Regions from separate parts of the Homo sapiens genome. Here region 1 is linked to region 2. The links are contacts of gene promoters, found by promoter capture Hi-C in blood cells and fetal thymus (Javierre and others, 2016). All regions are on one chromosome and are shown on one strand. Each heading gives the region's core, a stretch centred on a gene start or on the middle of the fragment in contact. The rest is flanking DNA. Distances are from core to core; before and after follow the strand shown.

Region 1 (5,726 bases), core at 1,758-4,257, 750 kb before region 2:
ATATGTTAAGATCTGAATTCCTTTCATCAAAAACAACACAGCGTGCTGCATATGACCAGAAAATCTTTATATGTTGTAAAGCTATTTTATTATGCAAAGCTTTGCTTAATACACCTTACTCTATTTTTCTCAATTGTTCTTTTCATGTGGTTCCATAATCCTAAATAAAAGAAATTAACTTGCAGGACATGTGAAGGCATTTAAATTATGCAAGCACCCACAGAAAGGAGAAATTTCTATAATCGAGAGCCTACAAAACATTCTCAATCTATAATGGTATTCTTTAGATTCTAAATAGCAGCATGTAAATAACACAGAATTCCAAAGATTAAGGTTCTTAATTAGGCCTACTGAACACTTAATCCATAGCTAAATGTTTTCTGTTTTTTCTTATTATAACCTGCATATAATGAAAGTTAAAATGCAGCTACACATTTTTGAAAAATGAAAGTTACTGGCTGATGAAATAGTTTCACTACTTCGTCATATTCTTGAGATGGCCTGTGATTTTCTGATCGTCAGAGCAAGTATAATTACAATAACTACAATTTCATGAACTTTTTGCATCATGTAATATACTACATATTAGTAGTCTGTTCTTACTTAATTTCTACAATACTCTTAGGTGTCATTGTCTCAGTTTATATGTGAAGTAACTGAGATTTCAAGGTGTTAAATAATTTTTCCATAGCTACACAGTTTGGGAGATGGAGACAAACTTATAGTCTCAGCTTTCTGCTGCCTTCCTGCTATTTAGGTGGGCACTCATCTCATTCTTTCTACCCCCTAACCATGATCACATTTGTTCTCTGCAAGGAGTGGAAACCAGGCTTCATCTTTACCCACTGGATAGTAAATTTTCAGAAATGAATACATTCCACAGAATAAATCTCACTGGTGCACTTTAAGTATATTCATTACCCTCAAGGAAACTGGTGTTTCTTCAGTTAATATACATTTTTATTAAGCAAAATGCAGCCATGCTATGAAAATTTGATTCTGTGGGTGAAGAGTAGTAACCATGTCAGAGTTATTGTTCTTTCAAGCAGCGATTCATATCACTGTGATGACCTACAGCATTGTAGTACTTCTGCAATTACTTACTCTTTCCATGAGCAAAAAAGTTTTTAAAATAAACTAAAGAGGCTTAACTGGGTAGTAACAGGAGTAAGGATGAGAGCCAATGCATTTTTGAAAGAAAAGATGCTGATTTTTTTTTTATTCTTATTCCTGGGAGAGATATCACAAAATCATTACATGTGATTTTATTCAAGAAGCTCAAAAAACCCCAAGGAGAAAACACAAACCACACCAAGGTATATTATAATAAAATTGCGTAAAACATGAGGAAGAAAAAAAATCTTAAAATTGGCCAGAGAAGAAAGTTTCATACATACAGGGGAAAAAAGATCAGAATTAAAGATGACTTCTAATCTGAAACAATGAAAGTCAGAAGACAGTGAAATGACATCTGCAGGTGCTGAACAAGTTGGTCTTACTAGCTAAGATGTTACTAAGAGGGACACTTTATAATTCATTTTTCTTGCCATTGCCTAGCACAGAAACTTAGGATATTCTTGGTAAATGATTCTTGGATGAATAAATGAATTGCCATGTATGAGTCGAACCCATAGCATCTATCCTCTACACAATGTTCTAACCAAATAAGCTGGTCAGCCCCCAGGCCACTGTCACTAAAATATTGATGTTTGTCCTAAAGTTGCAAGAGTCTTTCCTCATAGTTAAGAATTAAAGATACAAACCTGAAATGGAATAAGTTGTGTAGGAGAAGGCTTGGAGATACAACTGTCTCAATAGATTTTAAAAAATGGTAAAATATTGTTTATTACTTCTGTTTAAATTTTACTTGTTTATTTTTACAAAAGTCTAACAAGGTAATATTATTTGTTGTTTTACTAATAAGGAAACTAAAACAAGTAGGTAACAAAACTTAATGTAAGATGAACAGAAAACACTGTAGAATTTAGACATACTCATCATAGAACATTTGGCAAATGTAGAATAGTCTAAGGAAACAATATTTAAAATACTAAATTCTATCCTCTCAATGTGAGTACCACTATTAATTTTCATCTGTTTTCCTCCAAACATTTTTAAACTCAAATTTAGTTAAATTTATCTATCTGTGAGATAATGCAACTCTAAGATTTATACGTTAATCAGAGTTCAATCCGTTCAAAGGGATGTTTCTAAAATAATAGATTTCCTTTAATTGTATAAAGCAAATGTTAATCTATCTATAATCAAGCACATTATTTAATATTTATTACAATTACACATTCATTACAATAGGTAGTTTTTGAAATAATATGTAGTTCGTAAATGGGAAAATAAATTCAAACCCACATTTTTTTATTACAGATCCTGCAATCATAATTAGTATGCTATTCCTTCTGATAAAATTGTACCTTGAAGATACCAATCATGATTTTTGGAGTAGCAGAAACAAGGCTAAGACTACTAAAGATATAAATGTTAAGGACGGTAAACAAACAAACAAAAACTCAGACTTACGTATTTATTTTTCTCTGTCTGGGGTAGTACTTCTGAGTAAAATTGATACTGTTACCTCTGGAGAATTCAGGAACTTTGTTGTTGTTGTTTCTAACTAGTAATATTGAAATTGTCTGAGGCTGAAAAATTTGATTACTTAACAAAACAGAGGGTAGAAATGTTTATACTGCTCTATTTTTGTCATTGGGAACAACTAGCACCAAATCTGATTAACAGATATAGTTGATTGTGATACGATTATAACCTTTCCAAAGAGAAAGAGACAAATTGTACTTCGGTAGTTTACTTTTTTCTACAATAAGAGAAAAACAATTATCTCTTATATTTTTATAAATGTGGAGGTGGATTGCCTAGAATGATAAATTTGCTCCAATTTAGGAATGCACATAGTGCATTTCCAAAATGATTTCTATTGGTTCGTTTTTGCATACTTTTGAAGTAGATAACTTGTTCTAATTTTGTTGGCATATATTCAAATTCATATGCAGAGTTTCTTTTGCAAAGTCATTCAGAGGATACAGACTGGAACAATGTGCTCAAATGAACAATATTATCTCTGCTTCACAGATGACAGAACTGAAACAGAAAAGCAAAATGACATGTTCAATGCCACAGAAGAGTCACTGGCAAAACGGGATTAGAACTCACTGTCCATAATTTCCAAGACTGAATGTTGGCAGAACTATTCCCATATTTAACTAAAGATTTTTTTAGCTTTGCAAACTCCAAAACAGAAATCTACTTATAATACTGGTATGAAAATAAGACTAAATTTCCATTTAGAAAAAAACATGATAACTAAATTTTCATCACGGTTGAAATATATTTGGATACCGTATGCGATGTATGGTGTACCTAACTTTCAAAGTGAAATGCACAATAAGATACACATACATTTTTTTTTTTTGCATTTTTAAAATTAAAGCAGAATATTATTCATGTCCTATTTAGTGCAAACCAAACCATTTCTAATGTTCAATGTTTTTCATCTAAAAGTGATGATGTCATGTGTTCTACCCATCATGTGAATAGATAGAAACATAATCATGTAAATAGTTTATTTTGTCCTGAAAATAAAGTCTTACATTTGTTACTGCTGCATTAATGTTCAAACCTGATTCCCGAGACACTAACAATTATGATTCCCATTTATGTAACATTTCATAATCTGAGCTTAGATAGTTCAGGGAGAGTTACAAATTCTGTAAATGACTATTGCCCCAAGACAATGGTTTTCAGAATACTTAGAGAACCCTGATTCTAAGGACTCTTAGACATTTGAACCCTTTACACACTCATTATTTCATGGGTGTACAGTAGAGTATTCTAAAGGCTACATCACATTTGATAGCATTATTACTTTGATGGCTAATGTGAGTACTTATGATAGTGCGGACTTTGACCATTTTGGGCTATTGAAACTATCTGGTCACTAGCCTTGCGGCAACTCATTGTGTTCATGTGATCAGAGCCGACGTGGTTTTGGAACCTGTAGAGGCAGAGAAGGCATTCACCTCTGGCAACTTCTTGGTTGTAGTGGCTTCCTAGTTACTTTAATGGGAACAGTGTATACTTTTTTTTTTTCGTCTGAATCCTAACCAATCATCTTTTCAATAATTAGAAAAAATATATTTACATGCTAGAAAGTACTAAAATTCATTAAGATTTATATGCTTCTCTCTAGACATGCTTAATCACAGAAATCTGTATTTTGTATAAAACTTCCCAAACAAGTATAGCAATTGGACAGTTTCTTGACCTATAGTTTAAACAATGGGAAATTCATTGAAGGCATGGAATAGATGCAATATGTGTATTAGAAAGAATTATCTGGTTTTCTACTGTAAATTGATCATGTGATAGAGTACTAGTACATAGAGAAAAAGTAGGAATATGTCAATAATACAGCCAAGATATTATGAAATCATAATAGTGGGCAAATATGAATGATTATAATTCAAAAAGCATTTTATGTGTTCCTCTTTATGTTTTATGTGCACCTCCACAATTATAATATACTTTCCCTGCAGAGATGTATTACAATATAATATTGCACAAGTGCTGTCTTGATCCAGTTTTGAGACCATTGCCAAAAAATCTTCAAGTCTTCTTCCCAGGCTGTTTGCTAAACCTACACCCCAGTGATTTACCTTATCGGGCTCTGCTGCTCCGTTTTACTACATACGTACCCAACTGCCAAAAGCCTGGGAGCCACATATGGAGGAATGGCCCTTCCTTCATTGGGCCCATGGAATTATTTAAAATTCCCAGTCCATAACAAACCCTCTGAACCTTGCTCACTCACTTGACTTGCCTTATATAAGCCTCCTCCTAGGTTTCTAGGTTGCTGCTACCTTTTTTCTGGGTGCAACCCCTATGTAGCCCTACCCCACAGCCGCCTCTCGTGCAGGACTATATAAGTAATAAAGAATTCTGCCTTTCATTTTTCTGGAGTCATTGTTGTTATGTCCTGCCATCATCATAATCTAACAAATCTTGAAACAATAAAATACCTTGTAGATATTTTTTTTTTTCCTGCATCCACACTACTAGAAATGGTAGAAATACAAAAAATTAGCCAGGCATGGTGGTGAGCACCTGTAGTCCCAGCTACTCGGGAGGCTGAGGCAGGAGAATGGCGTGAACCCGGGAGGAGGAGCTTGCAGTGAGCCAAGATCCCGCCACTGCACTCCAGCCTGGGAGACAGAGCGAGACTCCGTCTCAAAAAAAAAAAAAAAAAAAGCTCATTAACTATTATTTATATTAAATTTGAGTGACAGAACAACATCTTGTACTGAGTGTGGAACCAATAAATACGGATCTTTTATCAGGGGTGGGTGTCCAATCTTTTGGCTTCTCTGGGCCACATTGGAAGAGGAATTGTCCTGGACCACACATAAAACACATGAACACTAACGATAACTGATAAGCTAAAAAGAAAATTGCAAAAAAAATCTCATAATGTTTTAAGAAGGTTTATGAATTTGTGTTGTGCTGGATTCAAAGCTGTCCTGGGCTGCTTGTGACTCACAGGCCACAGGTTGGACAAACTTCTGTCAGATAAAGGCATTTATTTATTGATAAAGGAAGAGGTTAGTGATATGATATATTGAAAGCTATATGTAAAGTTTTTTTAAAAGCATAATCATCAATTTTATTTATGCTGAAACATCGATGTGTTCTGATTTTGA
Region 2 (5,360 bases), core at 1,441-3,940:
ACATGTAGACATTAACAAGTAAATAGTAAAGGATAATATGAAAATGCTATGAGAGGGAAGATGTGTCAGAAATTTGCAGACTAATTTCTTTCACGTTTGATTTATTTATGATAACTATACTGAATCCTTATATTTATACATCACTTAAAAATTACCCATTTTGCTTTTAGTCTTCATTATTTATTAATGAAAATTTAATTTTAACTTTTCTTAAAATGAACATTTTTACATTGCAGATTTTATATAAAAACTTTTTTCATTGAACCTTTAAAAGTCATAACTTCTAATAACAATTACATTAATTGTTAGCCTTAGAGTAGCTTTTTTATGCTGCTTCAACAGGCATAGAACAATAGTAATGGATTGTTTTGGCATTAATATGTCTTCATTGCCTTATTCAGTTGATTCAATCTCTTTTTTTCCTCTCTTATTATCTTAAATTGTACTGTATATTCATGAGCAATTTTCTTCATTTGTGGAAATTAATTGCTAATGTGAGGGAAAGCATTACAGGCTCTGGAGCCTCTGCCACTAATTGGGAGATTATGCAGAAGAAATAAGATTGGAAGTTACTTGAACGTGTAGGAAGTGTTGTGTCCCACAGGAACTGAGAACAACCACTTTAACAAAATAAAAGGACTTACGTATACCTCTATTAGACATCTTCATCACATTCTACAGAACATGGATACTTACAGGCTAAACAGATTATGAGAAATTTTAAAAGATTCAGTTGGTAGAAGGTAAGAGGAAAACTAGGACCATGTTGTAGCACAAAGAATGTTTTCAAAAATATGAGACTAAAAATGTCCTTTTGGGTTAGCAATAAAGAGTTCTTCAGTGGTTTTTCTAAGGGCAGTTTAAGTGTAATGGGGTGGTGGGGGGCAGGGGTGGGATGGAGGGGTGGAAGTCAGAAGTAAGATAAACAGTTTTCCTCAGCATTTGTTCATTCAACAAATATTTAGTACCCACAGAGGAGTGTGAGACTGACTGGGCAACATAGTGAGAACTCGTCTCCACAAAATTTTTTTAAAAAATTAGCCGGGTGTGGTGGCCTGTGCCTGTAGTCCCAGCTACTTAGAAGGCTGAGGCCAGAGGATAGCTTGAGCCCAGGAGTTCCAGGCTGCAGCGAGCTATGATCTCGCCACTGCACTTCAGCCTGGGCGACAGAGCAAGAGCCTGGGAGAATGTGTTTAAATGGTGACGGGAAAGAATGAATAAAAGAAGGAAAGCTTAAAATACATTAAGAGAAAATATATTGATGATGATGGAAGGGAGATGAAATTGGTCAGGGTCCAAAGCCCATGTGGAGGGCTTCACATAAAAAGGAGGAATAGTATTTCTCAGCCGGATGCAGCCAGAGATGGAAGGAGGATAGCATCTAAACCTTCCCTATAGTTTTCCTCAAATGGACAGCTCCTGAGTTCATGCACTTGTCACCCCGGCTTCTGCGTGGGATATAACTACAGGGATGGGGAGGGGAAACAGGAGATGGGCTAATACTGAATGCTTCCTGTTGATTAAAAAGGCACTTCAAACATAGCTGGCTGGGCACAGTGGCTCATGTCTGTAATCCCAGCACTTTGGGAGGCCAAGGTGGGCGGATCACAAGGTCAGGAGTTCGAGACCAGCCTGGCCAAAATGGGAAACCCCGTCTCTACTAAACAAATACAAAAATTAGCCAGGCATGGTGGCCTGCGCCTGTAATCCCAGCTACTAGGGAGGCTGAGGCAGAAGAATTGCTTGAACCCGGGAGGTGGGGGTTGCAGTTAGCCGAGATTGCGCCATTGCACTCCAGCCTGGTGACAGAGCGAGATTCCGTCTCAAAAAAAAAAAAAAAGTTAGCTATATCCTCCTGCAAATATGTATATAAAGAAGATATTTTAGTTCAAATTAGCCTTGGAAATATTCATGTAATTCTTTATTACATTTAGTTTCACACTAGGATGATTTCACTTAAATGATTGAAGGCATATATCTGGAATTAGCAGAGAATTCATGTTTAACAATTTATCATTATAAATGATAAATTATAATATTTATCAATTATAAGTTATAATAAATATTAAATAAACTATAATAAACCTATAAAATAAATTATAATAAATATTAATTATACCACAAAATCATGGCCCTATAAAACAATGACAAGGTTAATCAAATCTGTCTGTAAATAGCAAGACTCAATGGTGGCATTATGCCAATGCCCGAAATTACTATAAAAACTCCCAAATAACATTGTTATCCTTGTAAATGCTTCCTTGTAAAGACTGCAGTAGGTGCCTATTTCTTGGAGGAAGAGAACTGGACATTAAAAGAAAGGCTCTGCCTACAGGAGCTTCGAATCTACCAAAGGGAAGCTCAAATCCCGCCCAGCGGACCCGCCCGCTTCCCCTAAGCTTGCCTCCCGCCACGAAAGCTGGAAAGTCACTGGGGGCGGAGCTAAGGGGAGCTGCGAGAATTCCGGGGGATGTGACCGGACTGGGCGGGGCCTGTACCTTGGCCCTGCGCTCCCGTTGACGTCGCATCCTGTCAGTATTTCGCCAAACCTCCAGGCGCCATCAGTGTGTGAACCGTTACGCAGCTGGTCCACCGCGGGCGGAGAACAAGCGACTATGCCCAGGGATCCTGCACGCATGCGTGGAGCTGAACCGTCAGCGTGCGTGTGACGTCACCTGCGCGCCCGCCTAAACTCTTCCTAGGGTTCTTTCTAGAGTACGGGTGAGTGAAATTTGTAAGGTTTGGTGTGTTCATTTGAGTGGGTGCCAGACGTAACGGGCCCGGGATTGAATTAGTTTAGATCAAAATTTGATGTAATTATCGCAGAGAAACGCTTTCTTACGAGTGTTTATCTCGAGCCTGCTGTGTTCAGCATCTTTCTTGGTGTTTTGGGAGAAGCAGACAGGAGTTAAGTCCAAGTCCCCGCCCTCACAGAGCTCAGGTGGCTTGGGGGAAGGTTGGTGCGCAAACATTAAAATTAGATATCGACACTAGTGAGTGTCCCCGTCAAGAGGTCTGTGAAATAAGGTTGAGCCTACGATGCAGAAGTTAATCTCAGTTCAGTAATTTTTGTTTCTTCATTTATTTAGCGGGTGAAGGGAGGGGGCCACAGAAACATGTTGGAGTACGATGCTTTTGGTGCACAGTTTGTCTATACAATATTACAGCTCCCGTGGGGGTTAAAAAAAAACACGATTTTTCAGCCTCCCTCTTCCCCAATAAATTTTACATTTTAAAGCACAATGTTAAAAGCGTTTGTTAGTGACGTTACAGATCTTAAAACTGGCTTTTTGGAGGTACTTTACGCAGCTAAGTAGAAAATGGTTAAGTTTCAGTTCCTTGGAAGAATGTTTTGTATTGATCTTTGCAATAAAATTGTAAAATAATCCATCCTCCTGTCACCCCCCAACCCCGAACCGTGTTAACTATAATAAGGAAAAGCATAACTAAGTCAAAGAGACTTAAAGCAAATTATTGACTTCATTTTGGGTAAAACACTGGTTTTGTATTTTCAGCAGCAAGTTGTCAGATTCCCTAGTTGAATTTGCTTTGGACATCAGTGTGAAGCAGAACTGATATGCCACTTGAATTAATAAAGGAAGTCAATGGGGTGCCTGAAGTTCAGCCGCTGAGTAAATTACATAAAGTAGATTTCGGATCCCTACAGCCAGGTTACAATTATAGCAAGAAATATATTCAGGTAAGAATTTCTATAACTCAGAATGCTTTTTCCTACTAAAAGGAATGCAGTTTTTAAGTGTTGAGTTTATTTATGAGAACTGGTTTAGGTATGGTTTTTATCTTTGTCATAACATTTGAGATTGAATATTTCAATAAGTTATTCTTATTCAGTACTTATTTAGCGAACAATTATCAAATTCGTGTGTGAAACATTGGAGTAAGTTTCTGAGGTACAAAGATGAATAAATATAGTCCCGGAACTAAAGATAATCACATTTCTGTGGGGTCTGACAGATCAATCACCTGATCTCCAATTAAAATTAATAGGTGTGATATTAGCATTGTGATGTGTGAACATGAGAGAGCTTTTGGTTCTGACAGATCACGAAAGTTGAGCTGGAACTTACGGGATAACAGACTGTGCTGTACCTTCCTTTGAGGTAAAAAGCAGTCCTTATGTGCATGTTGAGGAATTTGGATATTACTCTAAAAGCTATGGGAAGTCTTTAGTAGGTTTTAGCAGGAGAAAGACATGATTTACTTTGAGTTCAAAAAACTTTGCTCCTAGGTAGAGAATATATTGGCGAATGCAAGATTAGAGGAAAGATGTTTAGTTAAGAGGCAATTACAGTAATTTAGGTGAGAGTTGATGATGATCTGGGCCAGTGGCAGAGGGGATGATGGGAAGGATATTGAAAAAAGATAGTAATAATAATAACTAAAGTTAACATTCATTGCATTTTTTTCCATGCGTTAGGTAGTTTTTACGTATATTATTTAATCATCACAAAGACCTATGACATAGGTACTGTTATTAAAGACACTGTGTTTCAGAAAGGTTAAGCAATTTGCCTGAGATCATATTGATGATATGAAGTAGAGCAGGAATTTGAATATAGATGATTTCCTTTAGACCTGACAGGATAAAGAAGCAGAATCAGTAGGTCTTAGAGAACAATTAGACTAGAGTGGCAAAGAGAAATTCAGGAAACTTCTGTTTCTAATTCCTAGCCAACAAGGAGAAGAAAATAGGGGGTACATACTTAGGGAGAAACATGATAAGTTCAATTTTGGTCATATTTGAAAGGTCTTTAGAGGTATATAAATAGTAGTGTGCAGTAGGCAAGTGGATTGGGGAGTTTGAAGCCCAAAGGGACTCTCATTTAGATGGGTTTGAGCCAAAGCATAGAAGAGAAGAGAACCATGTTGAAGGAGTCAGTGAAAGAAAGTAGTATGAATAAGTAGCAGAGATGGTCTAGAGAAGGAGGAAGAAACTCAGGAGTCTTTGATACGTAAGAATGCAAGTTTCAATAACACTTGTATAGATTGTTGTCTAGTAGGCACTCTCCTAAATGCTTTGTATATGTAATCTCTTTGTATATGTTCTCTCCTAAGAACTCTAAGTATTATTCTCATTTTATAGCTGGAAAACAAACACAGGTTAAGTGATTTATTCAAGGTCTAATAGCCAGTAAGTGGCTGAGCAGTGATTTGCATTCCCATTGTCTTTGCTACTAAACAGAGCATTATGTTGCTATTAGATGCTCAAAGGTCTGAAAAGTATCTGTTCATTCTAATAACCAAGAAATTATTGATCACTTGGAAAGATTAGTTTTGCTTAAACACTAAGAGCAAATTCATTTTTCAGTAGTTTGAGGATTGAATGTCAGGTGAAAAAA

What was found. The method cuts DNA at HindIII sites, captures the fragments that hold promoters and counts their contacts. A CHiCAGO score of 5 or more calls a contact.
Region 1: a fragment that was not itself captured here is called in contact with the fragment with the promoter of POT1 in region 2 in 2 of 17 cell types (megakaryocytes and erythroblasts); the score reaches 10.1 in megakaryocytes.

What each region holds. Positions count from the first base shown.
Region 1 is chr7:125,673,189-125,678,914 of GRCh38, reverse strand. No RefSeq gene overlaps it. Among named protein-coding and RNA genes, the nearest start is that of LINC02830, 520 kb to the right of the region's middle. The HindIII fragment of the contact is 5,812 bases long and covers 102-5,726 here.
Region 2 is chr7:124,927,155-124,932,514 of GRCh38, reverse strand. POT1 (protection of telomeres 1) reads left to right here and starts at 2,690. Exons shown (of 19, transcript NM_015450.3): 1 at 2,690-2,721; 2 at 3,516-3,700. POT1-AS1 (POT1 antisense RNA 1) reads right to left here and starts at 2,642. Exons shown (of 8, transcript NR_125719.1): 1 at 2,499-2,642. RefSeq lists enhancers at 2,406-2,700, 2,455-2,754. The HindIII fragment of the contact is 3,988 bases long and covers 2,402-5,360 here.